Regions from separate parts of the Homo sapiens genome. Here region 1 is linked to region 2. The links are contacts of gene promoters, found by promoter capture Hi-C in blood cells and fetal thymus (Javierre and others, 2016). All regions are on one chromosome and are shown on one strand. Each heading gives the region's core, a stretch centred on a gene start or on the middle of the fragment in contact. The rest is flanking DNA. Distances are from core to core; before and after follow the strand shown.

What was found. The method cuts DNA at HindIII sites, captures the fragments that hold promoters and counts their contacts. A CHiCAGO score of 5 or more calls a contact.
Region 1: a fragment that was not itself captured here is called in contact with the fragment with the promoter of PLEK in region 2 in 1 of 17 cell types (neutrophils); the score reaches 6.3 in neutrophils.

Annotation. Positions count from the first base shown.
Region 1 is chr2:68,693,867-68,697,533 of GRCh38, forward strand. No RefSeq gene overlaps it. Among named protein-coding and RNA genes, the nearest start is that of ARHGAP25, 39 kb to the right of the region's middle. The HindIII fragment of the contact is 3,980 bases long and covers 1-3,367 here.
Region 2 is chr2:68,363,704-68,367,321 of GRCh38, forward strand. It overlaps PLEK (pleckstrin), which reads left to right and starts at 1,579. Exons shown (of 9, transcript NM_002664.3): 1 at 1,579-1,690. The coding sequence starts at 1,649. LOC101927723 (a long non-coding RNA gene) reads right to left here and starts at 2,701. Exons shown (of 2, transcript NR_187652.1): 1 at 1,712-2,701. RefSeq lists an enhancer at 1,539-1,618. The HindIII fragment of the contact is 25,233 bases long and covers 1-3,618 here.

The DNA of each region.
Region 1 (3,667 bases), core at 128-2,627, 330 kb after region 2:
TTTCTGTTCTTGACATTGGATACATATGGCCCTCCACCATCTCACTGCTCCCGAAGATAAGAACCTATAAATGTCAGTTTGTATGATTAAAATGCAACAATTCCAACTGCACTGTGAATGTTTGAAGCTGCTTTGCATTTTTCTAAGTTCCTCTGGGGGAAAAGCACCTTTGCTAATGAAAAACATATTTTCAATATGGAAATTGCAACTGGAGGCACAGCCTACTGTGAAGAGTTCAGACATATTTGGTTAATTGGTGAACAGATTTGACAGATGGCTATTTGCATTGGGGACAAAGGAGTCTTCTAATTTGTGCTGTGTGTCCCTGTGTGGGATTCAAGCTGTGCACACTGCTGGAGTACAGACATAACTTGATTTTTCTGGTGGGCTGATGGGATGGCCTACTTCACTCCGCTTTGTGAAGTCGTAGCCTGAGGCAAGAGGGAGCCAAGCATGAAGAGTTTGAACCAGTGAAAAGATATATTTCCCAGGGGGATTAGGGATTCAGAGAACATAAAGACTATTCCTTAAATCTTCCCTTAGCTTAGATCCCCACATGTCCATGGGGGAATAAGATTGAAGGGAAAACTGGAAATTCTGTAATACACCAGGATCCAGCAATCCTGCTTTGGGATTCCTCATTCAGCACATAACACAAAATGGAGTGAACCATTCTCAGTCATTCCTCTTCAGAACATTGCACAGATGGGTGCCCTGTGGCTCGCTCACTGTTTGCAGCAGGATAGCCCGGGCAGCAGAGATGGTCAACCCGGATGAGCTGTGCTGGAGCAGAGGCAGGATCTTCTTGGCAATGTGATGGTGACCACAAGTCAGGAAACTGCTGTTGAAATTGCCTTTGCAAACATTGTATCAGTGAGAAAACTATGACAGTGAAATAGATCTGATCTAATCAACCCCCATCTTGCCCTTAACTTCCAAACTTCCCTTGGTCATTCCTGGGCTTGGGCTAACTTTGGGAGAAATTTAGTTTATAGTTCAAATGATAATAGCCCTCCCCAAAACTAAACCACCATAGCAAAACTAATGAAAGACCACCAGGTTAGGAGGATGAGATGAGGCTAAATTCTGCTAAGATATAGGCATAAATGATTACCAGCCATTATTCCATACACAAGATTTGCAGCATCCCTAATTACTCCTGCAGATAACATCATTGTTATAGAACACACTGGCCTTTTGAAATGTCTTTTCAGGGTTTTGTATTTCTGATGACCAGATGGCCCCATCCAAACCAGATACTCTTGACTCAACAGGCCCTGTGGCCCCACCCAGAACCTGACTCAGTGCACAGGGACTGTTTTCCACAATCCTAGGATTGCATCCTCAACCAATCAGCAGCACCCATTTCCCTGCCCACCAAACTATCCTTGAGAAACCATAGCCTCAGAATTTTCAGAGACACTGATTTGAGTAACAAAACTCCAGTCTCCTGTTCAGAAATTAAACTCTTTCTTTTCCGCAATTCCCTCCCCCATCTTGATAACCTGGCTGCATCTGGACAGTGGGCAAGGAGAACCCCACTGGGCAGTTACACTGTGTGCAGTGGAGATTTGAAGGAAGACACAGCTAATGGCAGTGTCTATGGAACTATACAGATACCATGAGAGTGAAACTTCCCTATGTACACAGCCCACGAATACTACCTGCTCTTACCTGCTCACACTGTTACTCCAGAAATACCTAGACTAGAGTAACAGTGTAGGCAGGTAAGAGCCAGGCTATTTGTTTTTTATATACAATTTAACTGAAATTAATATTAGAATAGCTTAAAGCTAAAATATGAAGATACAGGATATTAGAAGTATGAATACATTCAGAATATTGGTTACTGAGTTTTATTTTTAGGTAGCAGGTCACCTTGATTGAGGTCATTAGGGAGTGCAGAATCCAATAACAGTAAAACATCAATGTAAAAGTTTTGCTTCTGTTTAGAATATAGAAAACAGAAAGGGAATGTCACTCTACTAACAGGACAAAGAGCCAGATAATCTATGGAATTCTTGAGTCCATCAAGATCTAAGGTTGTAAAATGATTAGGTGACATGAATTTGAAAGGGTTACAGGCCCCAGTGAGGAGAGATAAGACATACAAATTGGGTTTTAGCATGGCGAGAGCATGGAAGGAAGTGGTAGGAACCTTGAAGGCAAATAAAAAGAAAACTAAAATTTTAAGGAATTCTTAATGGCCAAAGGGTTCCTACCACTTCCTTCCACTTAGCATGAATGAATACATACTCTTTTGTGCCTGGGCTCCCAGAATACTAAACTGTCATGCTAGGAGTCATGCAGCTAGAGGCCACAAGATTCTGAACCTCGCCAATTGCTCCTAAGGATAATATAACTATTGTAAAACCTAACATTGGCGTTCGAGATATTTTTCAGACCCCACATTCTGATGCATTAGCTGGTTCCACCCAGACTGGTTATCTGGCTTAGTCAGTTCTGTGATACCACTTAGGAACCCACTTTGACCAGACAGCCAGAAGAAACCACTTTGACCCCCTACAATTTAATCTTTGACCTGGCTAATCAGCACTCTCCATTCCCTGGTCTCCTAAACACCAAATTATTATTTTAAAAATTCCAGTCTCCAAATTTTTGAGGAGACTGATTTGAGTAATAAAACTCTGGTCTCCCATTCTGCTGGCTCTGCATGAATTAAACTCCTTTGCTATTGCAATTCTCCTGTCTTGATAAGTTGGCTGTATCTGGGCAGTAGGCAAGAAGAACCCATTTTGAGGCTAGAGAAAGAATGGGGGCTAGATTCTGCTAAAACAGGTTATGAGAGGTGGGGGAAGAGACTTGGCTAGCAAAGGTGGCCTTGTTATGTAGATGAAGGCTGTCTCAGAGAGAATAGCTGGTAAACGGAGTCAGACTCTCAATCTCTGCTGGATACAGGGAAAGAAATAGAAAGGGAAGGGGCGTGGCTGCATTAACAGAGATTCTTTACAGATGTAAAACTTCCCCACTTGAGACAGCTTTGCAAGGCCACTTCTGTCAGCCAAGTGGCAGCCATTTCAAAATAAGTCAAAGAAATATATTTTGGGGTAAAATATTTAATTTCCCTCAATATTCATACAAATATAGAGTCAATTCTCATTATTCATGGTAATTATGCTCTATAAAGTCACTCTAAACACTGAATTAGTGAATTAAAGAACCATCGGTCCTAGAGAAAATATAGAGTTAGGTTCCTATGAGTCTTTGGCTATAACATGTTTGTCAACTGATCAATATATAACCTTGTTTTATATATGTTTCTATTTAAAGGCATCTTATTTAATATATATTGTTGATTTTAACATTGAATTCATGGTCAATAGCACTGTAACTCATGCTCAAACAAAGCTTATTTAACATATATTTTCTCCACAAGGCACATTACCATAACCACCCAGTGGGTCCTTGCCTGCTGCCTAGACAGAGCTGATTTATCAATATAGGCGAATTGCAATAAAGAAAGTATTTAATTCACACAGAGTCAGCTGTACGGAAAACTGGAGTTTTATTATTACTCAAACAAGTCTCCCTGAAAACTTGGAAATAGGGGTTTTTAAGAATAATTTGGTGGGTAGGGGGTCAGAAAGGGGAGAGTGCTGATTGGTTGGGTCAGAGATGAAACCATATGGAGTTGAAGCCGTCCTGT
Region 2 (3,618 bases), core at 329-2,828:
CACAAACTGGTGGCTTAAAACAATGGAAATTTATTGTCTTACAGTTCTGGAGGCCGTAAGTCTGAAATCAAGGTGTCGTCAGCACCATGTTCTCTATAGCAACTCTAGGAGAGAATTGTTGCGTGCCTCTTCCAGCTTCTGGGGGTTGCTGGCCATCCTTGGCGTTCCTTGGCTTGTAAATGCATCACTCTGTTGTCACATGGCTGTTTTCTGTGTGCCCTTTTCTTATAAGGACACCAGTCACATTGGATTAAGGGCCCACTTGTTTCAGTATGACCTCATCTTAACTAATTATATCTACAATGACCCTATTTCCAAATAAGGATGCATTCTGAAGTGCTAAGGGTTAGGACTTCTTTTTTGGGAGATCTAATTCAATTTATGACAAAAAAAGTTAACATAAATTGTTCAAAAAAGAATGCTATGGCGAAGTAAGTTTGGAAAACACCATTATAGGATTCTTTACTGTAGTACTTTGGCGGGGCGAAGGTCTTTAATTTGTTCATCATTTAGAGGAGTTGCCAACCTGGGATTATTTTGTAAAGTTTCTCAAAAACCTGTTTGATGATGGACTTCTTTTTACAGGCTGACTGTGAGATCAGCACTCAACGTGGAACACCTGTTCTCATGCCTGATGTGAGGCAGTGGCACCCTAGCACATCCCTCCCTGGTTCTTCTGCTTTCCCCTGTGACCTGCAGCGTCAACTTGAGACAACTTTTCTTCTCTGAGCCTGAGTTTCCTTACTCTAAGATAAGGAAAATAATATACTTTCCCTATGGGTTTGATGTGTGGACTCATTTTTGTTGTTGTTTGTTTTGAGATGAAGTCTTTCTCTGTCGCCCAGGCTGGAGTGCAGTGGACCAATCTCGGCTCACTGCAACCTCCGCCTCCCAGGTTCAAGTGATTCTGCTGCCTCAGCCTCCCGAGTAGCTGGGACTACAGGCACACGCCACCATGCCCGGCTAATTTTTGTATTTTTAGTAGAGACAAGGTTTCACCATGTTGGCCAGGCTGGTCTTGAACTCCTGACCCCAGGTGATCCATCTGCCTTGGCCTCCCAAAGTGCTGGGAGTACAGGCGTGAGCTACCATGCCTGGCCGATGTGCAGACTAATTTAGTTTAAAATAAGTAGGCTGAGAAACACTTGATACAGGGCTTGGCATAGAGAGAAGTAGGCATTCATTTAGTAGTTAACTTTGTTATGCTAACCAGATGGTTCTGAATTTCTTGGCATTTTTATTGGGCATTTCCAGGATCTCAAGAATAATCCTTACTCAGGACAATTTTCACCAACAAGTTTTTCTTGTTCATCTTCCTCTTCCTTTCATCACTTCTTTTTCTCTTTAAAAGAGGGATTTTCTGTATGGTAGTAAGAATTTCCCTTAGGTAAATATTCAACCCAACTGTGGTTTTAATAAGTCTCCAGCATTAGCAAGGAATGGGTGGTTTACTCTGCAGTTCCTTATTCTGATCTTCCAACCCAGTGAGGGGAAGAGGATGTGATCATGCGACCGCCAGCAGAAGGGAAATTGTGAAAGCGACCTGCTGTAGAAAAGGCGGCCCACAGCCACCTCAGCATGCAGAGGAGGCCCAGCTGCTGAGAGGAGTTGCCTGAGAGTGACCTTTGCATCTGCCTGTCCAGCCAGCATGGAACCAAAGCGGATCAGAGAGGGCTACCTTGTGAAGAAGGTGAGCGAAGGTGCCACTTACCAGGGTGTCAGTGGACATGGGCTGGGGAGACTTGGGTTCAGCTCCACCGGCTACCTGCTCATCTTAGGAATGTTTCCTGTTCAACCAGTTGGGTTGAAATAGGGGAGCGTGGTAGCACATAGAATGTTGGAGTGGGGTTAGGGGAGTGGGGATACTCATCCAGCCCCGGCTTCCTTACAGTTTGATATTACGGGTCTGAGAATTCCAGATGGCAGGGCCTGGAAGGTGGGGATCTAAGCTAACTCCCTCCAGATTTAGAATATCCTTTTTAAGAGGCACACAGATGTGTTCTGTCAGAAGATATACTCCTCTTCTATGGAGGTTTCTTGGAGGGACTATTCATTTTTTATTTAAATTCCACTTCCCCTCAGTTCTTTTTTTGGGAGGCAAGGGGAAAAAAGTGATTAAAGAGTTGATATAATGATAGAGTAATTACGGCTTATTTCTTGGGCCATCTTCTTGGAATTGACACGTTTAAAAAAAACCTTATCTTTTTTTAATTGGGCTGAAATCTCTTCACTCACAATTCTTAGTAAATTTGCATAATGTGGCATCGAGGTGGTAGATGCACCATTTTAAAGATTAGGGTACTGAAAAAGGCTTAGCCTCCCTGGTGTGCATCATGAAAATTGAATTTTCTTAGTGCTGTTTGTCTTTCTTCGGATGCTGAGTGTGTGCTGTGTGGTTGTGAAAGCTCCCCGGGATGTGAATTCACACATAGGACTTGGTGTCCTGTGGGCAACACCTATATACACAGATATGCTCACACTAACCTTAGTGAGTGGATTGTTTCAGAAATGAGCTGAACGTAGTGCCTTCCTTCAGGTGCTTAGCTTTTTAGTTGAATGAACAGTGAATGTGAGTCTGTTTTAGGCTACTCATTTGTTTCACGTTTTAACCTACAATGTTCTACCTGTAAGGGGGGTTAAATAGCACACATTGCTGCCTGCTTCCATTTTGACTTCAGGCTGGAGGGACCCTAGGTCATCTGGCCTAATTCCTTCATTTGCAGAAGAGGAGACAGACCCAGAAGGCTCGGTGATTGCCCCAAGTCACATGGCTATGACAGTTGTGACCAGCCACTCCTTCTCTGATGCTTAGGTTTCTGATTCATGGCACTGAACTTTGTTCATTACTCCAGCATTTTCTTAAAGCAGATTTATTCCAAGTTAGGATTTGTAGTGTATTTGTGATGGTGAGAGCTATGAGTTGGTACTGGAGAATAAGTGGGCCCTCAGCTGCTAATCTCTGTAGCCAGCTGTGCTTCGAAACATCCTTTGGAAAAGACACACTTATACATAGAAGTGTAAAAGATTACTTGCAATAGGCACCAATAATAATTGGCGAGACCTGGTAATAATTAATATTGACTTATTCCTTTCCTGATCACTTGTGCTAGTATCCTGAGAAGAGCAAGTGAATAGGAACATTTCTGCAAGTTTTTGTTTGTTTTTTTAAACAATTAAAAACATCTTGCAATGAAAATTGCTGTTATAAAGTTTGTATGCTCATATTTTAATCTCCCTAAATTACAAAAATATGAAGACTAAATTTCTAATAAGTGAAGCTGTCTCACTAAAAATTGGGGATGATAGAGTCAGGGTTGTCAAGCATGTGGATTTAAATTAATAAATAGTTTTTAATTAGTGAGAGTAGTTCTCTCAGATTGTAAAAGCCAATCTAGAAAATGTGCCTGGAATTAAATAGTGAAATTTTGTATTGATAGTTTTACAATTTATATCTTCCATAATTTTCATGTTTACAAGTTACATCTTCCATAATTACTGCATTTTTCTCTGGGACCTTTTGAACACTCTGATATAATGCATTAAGATTCTCTTTTTTTTTTTTATTCTTCTAAAACTTTAATTTTAGGTTCAGGAGTATAGGTACAGGCTTGTTATATA